2 separate regions of the Homo sapiens genome follow, and region 1 is linked to region 2. The links are contacts of gene promoters, found by promoter capture Hi-C in blood cells and fetal thymus (Javierre and others, 2016). All regions are on one chromosome and are shown on one strand. Each heading gives the region's core, a stretch centred on a gene start or on the middle of the fragment in contact. The rest is flanking DNA. Distances are from core to core; before and after follow the strand shown.

What was found. Contacts are between HindIII fragments. The CHiCAGO score rates a contact against its expected background, and 5 or more counts as called.
Region 1: a fragment that was not itself captured here is called in contact with the fragment with the promoter of GHRH in region 2 in 7 of 17 cell types (endothelial precursors, M2 macrophages, M1 macrophages and 4 more); the score reaches 7.2 in endothelial precursors.

What each region holds. Positions count from the first base shown.
Region 1 is chr20:37,554,116-37,560,751 of GRCh38, reverse strand. No RefSeq gene overlaps it. Among named protein-coding and RNA genes, the nearest start is that of LINC01746, 14 kb to the left of the region's middle. The HindIII fragment of the contact is 917 bases long and covers 4,714-5,630 here.
Region 2 is chr20:37,258,417-37,264,993 of GRCh38, reverse strand. GHRH (growth hormone releasing hormone) reads left to right here and starts at 3,180. Exons shown (of 5, transcript NM_021081.6): 1 at 3,180-3,251. The HindIII fragment of the contact is 7,318 bases long and covers 1-5,030 here.

The sequences.
Region 1 (6,636 bases), core at 3,923-6,422, 290 kb before region 2:
GGGGTGATGGAAATGTTGATTGGATGGTGGTTACCAGGAAACACGTATTTGTCAAAACTCCAAACTGTACACTTCAAGTGAATGTATTTTATTGTGGGCGAATTATTCCTCAATAAAGTTGATTTTTAAAAAGATATAATGCCAGGAGCTATAATGACAATAGGATGAAAGAGAAAGGGATATATTTAAGATAATGTGGTCAGAGAGGCCTCTCTGAGGAGATGCTATTTGAGCCTGAATGAAGTGAGGGATCTGGACTTAGTTAGGGCTATCTTAGGGGGAAACATTCCAGGTGGCAGAATCAGCAGTTGCAAAGGCCCTGAGGCAAGAAAACCTCTTCCTCCATGCCCCAAATAACTGAAACAAAGGTTATGCTGGTGTCTCCGGAAAGGGGTCCCAATCCAGACCCTAAGAAAGGGCTCTTGGATCTCGAGGCGAATTCATAAAGTGAAAGCAAGTTTCTTAAGAAAGTAAAGGAATAGGGGAGGCATGGTGGCTCACGCCTGTAATCCCAGCACTTTGGGAGGCCAAGGAGGGTGGATCACTTGAGGTCAGAAGTTTGAAACCAGCCTGGGCAACATAGTGAAACCCCGTCTCTACCAAAAATACAAAAAATTAGCCTGGCGTGGTGGAGCACATCTGTGGTCCCAGCTGCTCTGGAGGCTGAGGCAGGACGATCACCTGAACCTGGGAGGTGGAGGTTGCAGTGAACTGAGATTGCACCACTGCACTCCAGCCTGGGCGACAGAGCGAGACCCAAAAAAACAAAGTAAAGGAATAAAAGAATGGTTACTCCAAAGGCAGAACAGCCCTGAGAGCTACCGGGTGGTTACTTTTTGGTTATTTCTTCATCATATACTAAACATGGATTATTCATGAGTTTTCCAGGAAAGGGGTGGGCAGTTCCTGGAACTCACAGTTCCTCCCCCTTTTAGATCATATAGGGTAACTCCTGGACATTGCCATAGCAATGGTAAACTGTCATGGCGCTGGTGGGCATGTTGTCTAGCATGCTAATATATTATAATTAGTGTATAATGAGCAGTGAGGATGACCAGAGGGCACTTTCATCGCCATCTTGGTTTTGGTGGGATTTGGCCGGCATCTTTACCGCATCCTGTTTTATCAGCAGGGTCTTTGTGACCTGTATCTTGTGCCGACCTCCTGTCTCATCCTGTGACCAAGACTGCCTAACCTCCCGGGAATGCAGCCCAGCAGGTCTCAGCCTCATTTCACCCAGCCCCTATTCAAGATGGAGTTGCTCTGGTTCAAACACCTCTGACTCTGGCATGTACCCAAGGGCTGCCAATTGTTGACTTAATTAAAACAATTAAAAAGGGGGACTGCTCTGCCCTCATCCCGATCGTGTGCCTCCAGTTGTGTCCACAAAGACAGCTGCATATGGTGGACTGTGAGGACCCACATCAACTGGAAAAATGACGCCTGCAACTCCAGAGGAAGCTAGGGAAGTAGTGGTGACCCTAACATTTCTTGCTTGTTTTGCTTTGGGGTTCCCATGAAAGCAGACCCTGAGGCAAAAATTTGGGTGCAGGTGGTTTCTTTGGGAGGTAGTTCCAGGAAGCACAATTTGAGAGTCAGGAAGCCATCCAGGGAAGGGAAGGAAGCCAGTACAGGGCGCTAATGAATGGGTTCCTGCTGTGGACAGCTGGGGCTCAGTTTGGCTGAGGTCCCTCTGGGAGACTGCAGACCACACCTCAGAGCTGTGCCACTGAGAGGAGAGGCTGGGCCATTTACCCAGCTCCCATCTTCTGCTGGACCATGGTGAGTCTGGGACGTGTGTAGGCTGAGCTGGCCCTGGCCAGAGAATGCCCTTGGGCAGAAAGACACAGAAAGCTGCTGGTGAGCATGGTACTCTCTGCATGTCAATTCCAAGATGGGTCAAGGGAAGGGTGTGGACAGGGTGCCAACCACGTCTGCTACAGCATTTGACTGGGGACACAGGAAGGAACGCTTTGTCACACAGAGGTTTGCAAATTTTGTTTCATTGCAGTGAATAAGAATCCAAGTCTTAGAAAAGAGGTTCTGTAACATGGCCAACTGTGACACCTCCTGTTAGAAGCAGCCTGGTACCTTCAAGCCCCAAACTAGGGCGTCCCTCAACTCCTGGCCCGCTTCATTCCCACATCCAATCAGGCTCCCAGGCCTGTAGATTCTCCCTTCCTCCAGGTCCCACAGGCCCTGGCCTCATGCCTTCCAGACTAGTGCACGTTCCCCAGTCCATCCAGTTGGGCCTTCAACTCCAGCCCCACCACCCTCTTCACTCATTCTGTCCTTGCTGTGGCTCCCACCATCCACAGCAGCATTTGCCAAATGTCTGCCCTGGGGTTTCACCTGTATTTATTATTTACTTAATATATTTCTTCAAGTCGACTTGCCTTTTTGATTTATATACATTTATCTTTAAAAGGAAACTATTAAAATGATTTACTATTTTAAAATCCTTATAAAATTATGAGTTCAGCTGAGCATGGTGGCTCACACCTGTAATCCCAGTACTTTGGGAGGCCGAGTCAGGAAGATCAATTGAGCCCAAGAGTGTGAGATCAGCCTGGGCAACATAGTGAGACCCTGTCTCAAAAGGAAAAAAAAAGAAAAGAAAGAATTATGAGTCCTACATCAAATCACCCAGACAGGTACCACCTACCCTCTCCAGTGAAACTGACTTCACACTAAGAAAACTGCTGGAAGTTAGAATCAATCTTTAGCTGGGTGTTAAAAACCTTTTATTTAATTTTATTTATTTATTTTTGAGACAGGGTATCACTCTGTTGCCCAGGCTGGAGTGCAGTGGCACAATTGTAGCTCACTGCAAACTCAACCTCCCAGGCTTAAGTGATCCTCCTGCCTCAGCCTCCCAAGTAGCTGAGACTACAGGCGCGCCACCATGCTCAGCTAATTTTTCATTTTTTGGGTACAGACGGGGTCTTGCCACGTTGCCCAGGCTGGTCTCCATCTCCTGGGCTCAAGTGATCTCCCTGCCTTGGCCTCCCAAAGTGCTGGGATTACAGGCATGAGCCACCATGCCTGGCCTTAAAAACCTTTTGTGTCCAGGGTTCTACCTGCATCTCCAGATTCACACCCTACCACCCTACCACCCTACACACACACACACACACACACACACACACACATTCATACTCACGCACATATGCACACACATGCACTCACACAGCCAGAGGCAGTGGCTCTTATCTATTCCAAACTCTTCTCTATGCTCTTACCTCTGCCTGAGATTTTCTTCCAATGTCCTTACGTACCCAGCACTCTCCTATTCATCCTTCAAAACCCAATTCACATTGCACTTGCTCTCTAGATTTTCTTCCCTCTCTGAGCTCCCAGAATTAATTTCTGCCTCATTTAGCTTCCTGCACTCCTCTGCTCACCTGCCCATCATAGCACAGACCACCTGGTGCCACAGGTGCCTGCCTCAATGCCTCCCTCCCCCACTTAGGAGTGCTTGTTTAGGGGAGCAGGGCCAGGAGTGTGTTGTATTCATAAAGCACCTGACAAGCATTTATTGAGCACCACCTATGTGCCAGGCACAGAGAAGTATATGGTGGATACAGCCACGAGCAAAACAGACCCAGTCCCTCTCTCCTAAATCTCACTGCCTGGTAGGGAAGACAGACACTAAATACTTAGAAAAACAAATGAGTACACACTTTCCAAATGGAGATAAGTGCTATTAAGAAAATATTCTGAGTGTTATGAGAGAGAATAATGGAGAACATTTTGGGACAGGGCAGGAAGAGAAGCCCTCTCTGAGGAGGTGACATTTGGGCTGAGTCCTGAAGGATGAGATAGGAAGGGGGTGGGGACAGTGCTTCAGGGAGGAGAAACAGCCTGTGTGAGGGCCCCAGGGTGGGAAAGTGGTATATTCCTTGAAAGAGAACCGAGGCCAGGAGGAGAAGGACAGGGAAGATGGCGGTAGCCAGATGACACTAAGAGTGGCAGACGCTGACAATGCCACAGACATCGATGGACACGCAGCCTGATGGCTTCTTGTGTCTTAGCCCAAGGGAGTCACCCGCCCACAGTCCTGAGCTTGGATGGATACAGAGGGCAAGCCAGGAGAGTTAAACCCCAGAATCAGAATTTAGAGGATAAATACCTGCATCTTCCACCAGGTCCAGGACTAGGGTGTAGCAGGGAGGTACAAGGGCACAAAACATGAGGGTCTCACCCTCAGGCTCTGCAAGGGCAGAAGCAGCACCTGATGGTGGGGGCCCTCTTAAATGTTTGTTGTTGTTATTGTTGTCATTGTTTGTTTGTTTGTTTTGAGATGAGTCTCACTCTGTCGCCCAGGCTGGAGTGTAGTGGTGCACTCTCGGCTCACTTCAACCTCTGCCTTCAGGGTTCCAGTGATTCTCCTGCCTCAGCCTCCCAAGTAGCTAGGATTACAGGTGTGCACCATCACACCTGGCTAATTTTTGTATTTTTAATACAGACAGGGCTTAACCATGTTGGCCAGGCTGGTCTTGAACTCCTGACCTCAAGTGATCCACTCACCTCAGCCTCCCGAAGTGCTGGGAATACAGGCATGAGCCTCTATGCCCAGCTTAAATGTTTTTATAACAACTTTATTGAGATATAATTCACATACCCCAAAGTTCACCCTTTAAAGTATACAATTCAGTAATTTTGAGTATATTCACAAAGTTTTGCCTTTCTATATAAATTTTAGAACAAGCTTGTCTATGTCTACAAAAGCCTCTCTGGGACTTTTACACGAATTGCACTCAATATATAAATCAATTTAGGGAGAACTGACATCTTTACTACGTTAAGTGATCCAATCCATGAACACAATGTCTCTCTTTATTTAGGTCTTCTTTGAATTTGTTCATCAGCATTTTGTAATTTTCAGCATACAGATCCTGTATGTGTTTTGTAAGTTTGTACCTTAGTATTTTGTTTTCTTTGAAGATACTTTAAATGGTACCATTGTAATTTGGGGATTTCACGTGTTCGTTGTTAGTATGTAGAAACAAAACGAAGTTACCTGATCTTAGAAAAATTTTAATATGGGATTCCATTTCTGCTTAGGATATAGAAAGCTGCAAGAGAAGGCCAGCCACGGTGGCTCACGCCTGTAATCCCAGCACTTTGGAAGGCCGAGGTGGGTGGATCACTCGAGATCGAGAGCTCGAGACCAGCCTGGCCAACATGGCAAAACCCCATCTCTACTAAATATACAAAAATTAGCCAGGCATGGTGGTGCATGCCTGTAGTCCCAGCTAGTCGGGAGGCTGAGGCAGGAGAATCGCTCGAACACAGAAGGCAGAGGTTGCAGTGAGCCGAGACTGCACCACTGCACTGCAGCCTGGGCAACAGAGCGAGACACTGTCTCAAAAAAAAACAAAAAGGGCTGCAAGAGAATGGTGCACTCATCCTAAAAAAGAGAAAAAGATAATTTATTTATAAAATCATAACTTTTCTTGAGCTCATCACAGAACTAAGATCACAATGTGAGCAGTGGCAAATCTGTATGGGTCTGCAGCAACCTCAATTCTTGCCTCCTCAGAGGAAAGAATTCAACTGAGGGCCATAAGACAGAGCGGGAGACCAAGGCAAGTTTTAGAGCAGAAGTAAACGTTTATTAAAAAGCTTTAGAGCAGGAATGAAAGGAAGTAAAGTACACTTGGAAGGGGGCCAAGCTGGCGACTTGAGAGAGTCAAGTGTGTGGTCTGACCTTTGACTTGGGGTCTTATACGTTGGCATGCTTCTGAGGTTGCCTGACTTCTTCCCTGATTCTTCCCTTGGGGTGGGCTGTCTGCATGCACAGGGGCCTGCCCGCATTTGGGACGGGCCGCATGCGCAGTGTGTTTACTGGCGTTGTACACATGCTCACTTGAGGCATTCTTCCCTTACCATTCAAGTGTTCCTAGAAGGCTACGTACCACTTAAACTCCACCATTTTGCCTTTTAGTGCGTATGCTTGAGCCCACTCGCCCAACTCCTGAGATCTTATCGGTAAGCTGATCACCCATTTCAGGTGTTTTTATCTATTGGGAGACTGCCTTTCCCTGGCGCCGGCTGCAACCAATTATTATTTTAAAGCAACAGTTTTAACAGCTGTCTGACCATCACCTGATGGTTGCCTGACATTCCTGGGTTTGGGGGGCCTCTCCTGCCCTGCTCGTGTCTGAGTAGCTACCTACTTACTTACTATGACAACAAGGTGACCAAATGAATTGAGTTCTAAAGAGTAATAATCTCCTTGAGGAAGAGACAGGACCTGCTGTAAAGCAGGTTCACTGTGCACTGGTTACCACCTCAGCCCTCTGCATCTTAGTCTGCGCTTTGTTGCTTGCTCAAGTCTATTGAGGCAGAATGCTCACACACACAAGTTACATGAAGATTTATTACTTACAGATAGCAGCAAGGAACAGTTAAAGCCTAGGATTCATGATGAGCTGGTCCTCCAAGGCTCAGGAGAGCTACCCAAGGCAGGTGGAGACTCATAGCCCAAGCCCAAAACATTTCATCCAACTGCTGACGAATATACATTCTACTCATCTGCACGTGGAACATTCTCCAGGATAGGCCACATTTTAGACCACAAAACAAGTCTTAACCAATTTTTAAAAATTTAAATTATACCAAACATCTTTT
Region 2 (6,577 bases), core at 1,931-4,430:
GTCCCCACTTTGCATTTCCAGGAGTTACCCCACACTTCCTGACTGTGCGAGAGCCCATAGCCCTGGGGCTCCCAACTGCTTCGTCTGCTCCCTGCTGCTGTGACCTGCACTTTTTTTTTTTAAATAATATTTGAGTTCTGGCCAGGACAACATAGTGAGATCTCATCTCTACTAAAAATAAACAAAATTAGCTGGGCATGGTGGCGTGCAACTGCAGTCCCAGCTACTCAGGAGGCTGAGGTTGGGGACTGCTTGAGCCTAGGAGGTCAAGGCTGCAGTGAGCTGAGATCTCACCACTACACTCTAGCCTGAGCGAGACCCTGTCTCCAAAAAATTAAGTAAATAAAATAATAATAATAATAATTAATTTAAAGCTATCAACCCATTTATTTTTATTTTTATTTTTATTTATTTATTTATTTTATTTATTTTTTTGAGACGGAGTCTCACTCTGTCACCCAGGCTGGAGTGCAGTGGCACCATCTTGGTTCACTGCAAGCTCCGCCTCCTGGGTCCTGAGCCATTCTTCTGCCTCAGCCTCCCGAGTAGCTGGGACCACAGGCACCCACCACCACGCCCGGCTAATTTTTTGTATTTTTAATAGAGACGGGATTTCACCATGTTAGCCAGAATGATCTCGATCTCCTGACCTCGTGAGCCGCCCGCCTCAGCCTCCCAAGGTGCTGGGATTACAGACGTGAACCACCACGCCCTGTTTTTATTTATTTTTTTTTTTGAGACAGAGTCTCACTCTGTTGTTCAAGCTGAAGTGCAGCGGCGCCATCTCGGCTCACACCAACCTCTGCCTCTGGGGCTTAAGCTATTCTTGTGCCTCAGCCTCCCCAGTAGCTGGGATTACAGGCACATGCCACTACACCCAGCTAATTTTTTTGTATTTTAGTAGAGACGGGGTTTCACCATGTTGCCCAGAGTGGTCACGAACTCCTGAGCTCAGGCAGTCCGCCTGCCTCGGCCTCCCAAAGTGCTGGGGTTACAGGCATGAGCCACCGCACCTGGCCACTATCAGCCCATTCTTAATCCTTGGGGATCTGGCCTGACCTGACCACTTCGTATCCTGGCCAGCAAGGTGACATACCACTCAAGCCTTGCTTCTATGAGAAACATCTCATATTTGCTAGATGCCAAGAACATGGCTCAGTGCAGGCTAAGAAGGAGAACCACAAAATAGTGTTGCTAAGGGGACTCTTGGAAATTACTGGCTTGTAATTGTGACCCATCGAGGTACCTCAGGGATAGGCAAGGGGGTCTCCACTTCCCCCTCTTCAACCAGAGTAGCCCCATATTAAAAACCTGTCTCTGTAGGTTTCCAAAGAAAGAGTTTTGCTACTTTTTAAAAAATGTTTGGGCTGGGTGTGGTGGCTCACACCTGTCATCCCAGTGCTTTGGGAGGCAGAAGCACGTGGATCACCTGAGGTCAGAAGTTTGAGACCAACCTGGCCAACATGGTGAAATCCCATCTCTACTAAAATACAAAACTTAGCCAGGCGTGGTGGTACGCACCTGTAATCCCAGCTACTCTGGAGGCTAAGGCAGGAGAATCATTTGAACCCGGGAGGTGGAGGTTGCAATGAGTCGAGATTATGCCACTGCACTCCAACCTGGGTGGCAAAGATAGGATCCCTCTCAAAAAAATAGTTTGAAAGTTGCTGTTCTATGTCAACTCTCAAGTTTCCAGGTAGAAACTGAGGCCCGGAGGGTAGAAGTTTTTTTTCTTTTTTTGAGACAGAGTCTCGCTCTGTCGCCCAGGCTGGAGTGCAGTGGCACGATCTCGGCTCACTGCAACCTCCACCTCCCGGGTTCAAGCAATTCTCCTGCCTCAGCCTCCTGAGTAGCTGGGATTACAGGTGCCCACTACCACACCCAGCTAATTTTTGTATTTTTAGTAGAGACGGGGTTTCACCATGTTGGTCAGGCTGGTCTCGAACCCCTGACCTCATGATCCACCCGCCTCAGCCTCCCAAAGTGCTGGGATTACAGGTGTGAGCCACTGCACCCAGCCAGGTAGAAGTAACTTCCTAAGGGTCACAGAGGTCATGATTGACAGGCTTGGGAGAGGCAGCAGGTCCCTAGACTCGAGGCTTGGAGCTCTTTCCACACCTCCACGACGGCCGCCTGGGAAACCAGAGCTTCTGCCTCCTGTGCTTTTATGTCATTCCTGAGGATTTCTTAGCTATAGGCTAGAGAAATCTGGAAACACAACAACTCTCCCAAGGTTTTCCATCTCTTCCCTCTCATTTCACACTTCTCTGAGGCAACTGCCAATGTCTGGCTGCCTTGACAGGTGACGACGGATGCCCCCAGGCTAGCTGTTGAAATCAGCCTGTGACCAAGCAGGTGTAAATCAAATAGTGCAGAATTCTGATAATTGGACGACAAGGGAGATAGGGAACAAATTCCCCACTAAGGAGAGAATAACGCTTATTCATAATGTTGTCTACCCAAAAGTGAAATAAAATTACACAGGGACAAAGCTAAATTATATGAACTTTTGAAAAGGCACATTTATCTTGGAGAATCAATAAACTCTTGGTGTTTCACTGTTATGAGTTCTCCAATTATTTTTAACACATATTTTTTCTTTTTTTAAAAAATATATATTTTGAGATAGAGTCGTGCTCTGTCACCCAGGCTGGAGTGCCATAGCGTGGTCTTGGCTCACTGCAACCTCCGCCTCCCAGGCTCAGGTGACACTCTTGCCTCAGCCACCTGAGTAGCTGGGACTATACCCATGTGCCAACATGCCCAGCTAATTTTTAATTTTTTTCTAGAGACAGGGTCTCATTATGTTGCCCAGGTTGGTCTCAAACTTCTGAGCTCAGGCAATCCACCCGCCTCAGCCTCCCAAAGTGCTAGGATGGCAGGTGTGAGCCACCGCGCCCAGCCGAGTTCTCCAATCACTATTATAGCAGTATATATTCTCTATATCCTCTTGGAATAATGTTACACCTTTGTACTATGTCCACTGTGCCAAAGATAAAAGGAGACTTTACCAGGAGTCTAAGTCTGCAAGGGGCCAAACCTCTTTCACCAACAGGGTTTGTCAGTGTGATATGATGCTAAAAACAGTCCTTTGGTTGACTTGTGGGTAATTGATTCTCTGACGCTGACAACGCTTAGGAAAATGAAGAGATAAATGATGGGAACGCCAGGCGGCTGCCAGAGCAAACACCCAGCCCAGGGCCCCTGGATTTGAGCAGTGCCTCGGAGCAGAGGGATATCTGCCGCATCAGGTGAGAGGGGTGGCCCTGGGGGGGCTAGGCTGGGTGGGGGTAAGAAAAGTTAACCTTCTCACCAACTTAGAAACACTGAGTCCAAGAGGCCCACCGCCATCCTCTTTGCCCATGGACTGGTGAGTACATTTGAGCCCCTCTCTGGATAAAATCACCCCTCAATAGGGGCTCTGGAATAGGCTTTTGATGGTGCTGTTTGGGGCTTGTCTTAACTTGGGCGCGTGGCGGACTGGCTCCAGGTGTCTGTCGCAGGTGGTGAGGTCTCAGTGCTCCTTCGAGGATGCGTGGGCAGGCTTCGGGGGCAAACGTGAGTTGGCTCGATTTTCCTGTCAGCGATGGGATTCTGCCATGGATCAGAGATGAGCCAAGTGGCTGTGCAAATCAATACTGCTCATTGATCACTCAGAACTGATTCAATGTAATTGCCGGGAAATTGATAACATTTTGCTTTCTTGCTCAATTGCAGCCACACTCTTTACTCCAGGTTTTAGACACAATTATCTGCCTTTGGAGTCCTCCGCTACCCCACGCCTGTCTCCTGATCCTTGCTTTAATGGTCCTGAAGTATTTGTGTCTTTCACCATAGACTGCCTCAAACCCCTTCTGGAAGGAGGTGGAGTGTCACTCTTTTGAATGACAGTTCAAGATGCTTCCTCATTAAAAACTTAGATTTCTTTTAACTTGGAATGCTGTCACTGAAACAGTTTATAAACCAGATCAGGAAGTCTATGCTTTGGGGTGCTCAAATTTCAAAGGGGGATATTCAAGGAAGGTTAAAGATGTTCTTTCCCTGGGTTTTCAAAAATGGCCTTGCGAATTTGGGTGCTTGAGACCTGACCTCTGTCAGCTGCAGGTGAATCTGCAGAATTCTCCTGGCATTCCTGGCATGAAAGCTGGCAAAAGGTGCCAACGGATGTAGATCAAGTGCCCGTTTATCCTGAATCCAGGCAATCTCAAGTACATCTAATCCCAGAATCAGTAAGCACTGCAGGAAGCTAACCGATGATCATAATGATAGATTATAAACTCTGGAGTGCCTTCAGTCATCAGGGTTGCCAGCAATGCTGTTGGGCTCGGCTACACTTCATTCAGTGAATTTTGACTCCTTAAGTTGTCATGTGGAATGTGTCTGTTGACAGCTATTTTATTTTATTCTTTGAGATGGGGTCTTGCTCTGACATTTAGGCTACTGTGCAGTGGCACTATCATGGATCACTGCAGCCTTAACCTCCCGGGCTCAAGCAATCCTCCCACATCAGCCTCCAGAGTAGCTGGGACTACAGGCATGCGCCACCATGCCTAGATAAGTTTTTTTTTGTTTTGTTTTGTGTGTTTTTTTTTTTGTAGAGATGGGGTCTCGCCATGTTGCTCAGGCTGGAGCTATTTTATCCTTAGTGACATAACCTCTATTCTTCTTATCTTACCCTACACTGGATAATTCTTGTTTCCCATTTTCATCCAGTGGGATCTGCAAACCCATGGATTCGGTTCTCATAGCTCAGAGGTTGCTGTGGGGTCTTGACCTATGCCTGGGGCACAGGATTTGTGGCAAATGTTGAGCCTCTTGGTTAACTTGTGCAGTTGCTGAGCCTTATCTTGAATGAGCGGGGTATTGTGTTTACTATGACTTGCCCTCCCCACCAAAGTCTGCCCTCCTATGAGGTTGTTTCAACTCCCTGAAACTACTGGGTGTGCATAGGGAGGGGCCAATCAAGCAGGTGTTCCTGTTTGTCCCTGTTCTTTCTTCCCCAGAGGCCCAACAACAAAGAGCAAGAAGCTTTCCTTTTTTTCAGACCCTTTCCCACGTGCAGGTGATGGAGGCTGAGGATCCCTGTGAATGGGGAATACTGTGAATAGAGCATTGTACCTGGGAGGCTGCTGCATGGAGCGGAAGGAAGTCTGCCGGCCTGGGAATGAGGAGGCCCACTCTGAAGTGCCCACTCCAAAACTAATTTGATGGAGGATCATGGAAAATGTCCTTGTCCTCTCTAGGCTCTTTTCCTTGGCTGTAAGAGGAGCATGGGGATGCCTGCTCCAGAGGGAGAGTGCAAGGATGGGTTGTGGAGCCTGATAGGGCACAGGGGCTGGGAATCACTTGTGCCAGCCCTTGGGAGAAGGGGCAGGCAGAGGGAGAGCTTAAGCCAAGAGAAGGGGTTTGAGCTTTATTCTGGAAGGAGTGGGGAGCCAAGGGCTTCTGAGCAGGGGAGGGAGGTGATTGGGGACCTAGATCTGCCTGAATCTTTAAAAGATCAGCAGCAAAGAAGGCAAGAAAGCCAGGCTGCAGCTGGGAGACAGAAAAGGCAGTGGTTTCTGTCAAGGGGCCCTGCTTGCATCCAGAGATCTCTCGGCTTAGGAAATTCCACTTCTGGAGAGGCAGCCTGGACCAGGTGGGGAGAAGGGGGACCAGACGTGGTATGGTGCGATGAGGAGGACGGAAGCCTGCCGAGCCTTGGTCTGAGGAACAAAAGCTTAAGTCAGACATGCGGAACATATCTAAAGGACCAGTCGTGTGGCTGTAGGTGCAGAGGCTCCAGCCCAGCAGGCGGATGTTACACAGCCAGCCCTCGGGGTAGATCCCGTGTTCTCATCTTTTCTCTAGCCCCAGTCCTTACCGGAACAGTAGAGGCTTAACAAACATTTGCAGGAGAAGGAGATTTGGGCTTGACATGGTGAGACAAACTTCCTAACAATAAGAACTGCCTGGGCCTGGCATTGTGGCTCATGCCTATAAGCTCAACTCTTTGGGAGGCTGAGGCGGGGGGATCACTTAAGCCCGGGGGTTTGAAACCAGCCTCGGCAATATAGTGAGACTTTATCTTTACAAAAAATTTCAAAATTAGCTGGGCATGATGGCACATGCCTGCTGTCCCAGCTACTCAGGAGGCTGAGGCAGGAGGATTGCTTGAGCCCAGGAGTTTGAGGCTGTAGTGAGCTATGATTGCACCACTGCACCTCAGCCTGGGCCACAGAGTGAGACCCGCTCTCAAAATAAATAAATAAAGAACCATCTGGAAATAAGCTCCCGGGCCTGGGGGTAGTGAGATCCCTGTCATTCGCTGGCAGCAAGTGCTCACTCGAGCAGGAAGTGGAGGACAGCCAGTGTGCGTGTTGTGGGGATGCTCATGTCATGGAGGGAGGGGCTGACCACTGAGGCCTGGGCTGCTGCTCCCTCCAGCTCTGCAGGTACAGGGTCTCAGGCTGCAGTAAGCAGACCCCCTGAGTGCTGCCTGGGGGCCCAAGGCATCCCTGGGTTAGAGGAGACTTCAGTGCCTTCAGAAAGGAGGGTGATACCCTGAGAGGGCCGGGAGAGCAAGGTGGGTTCTGCC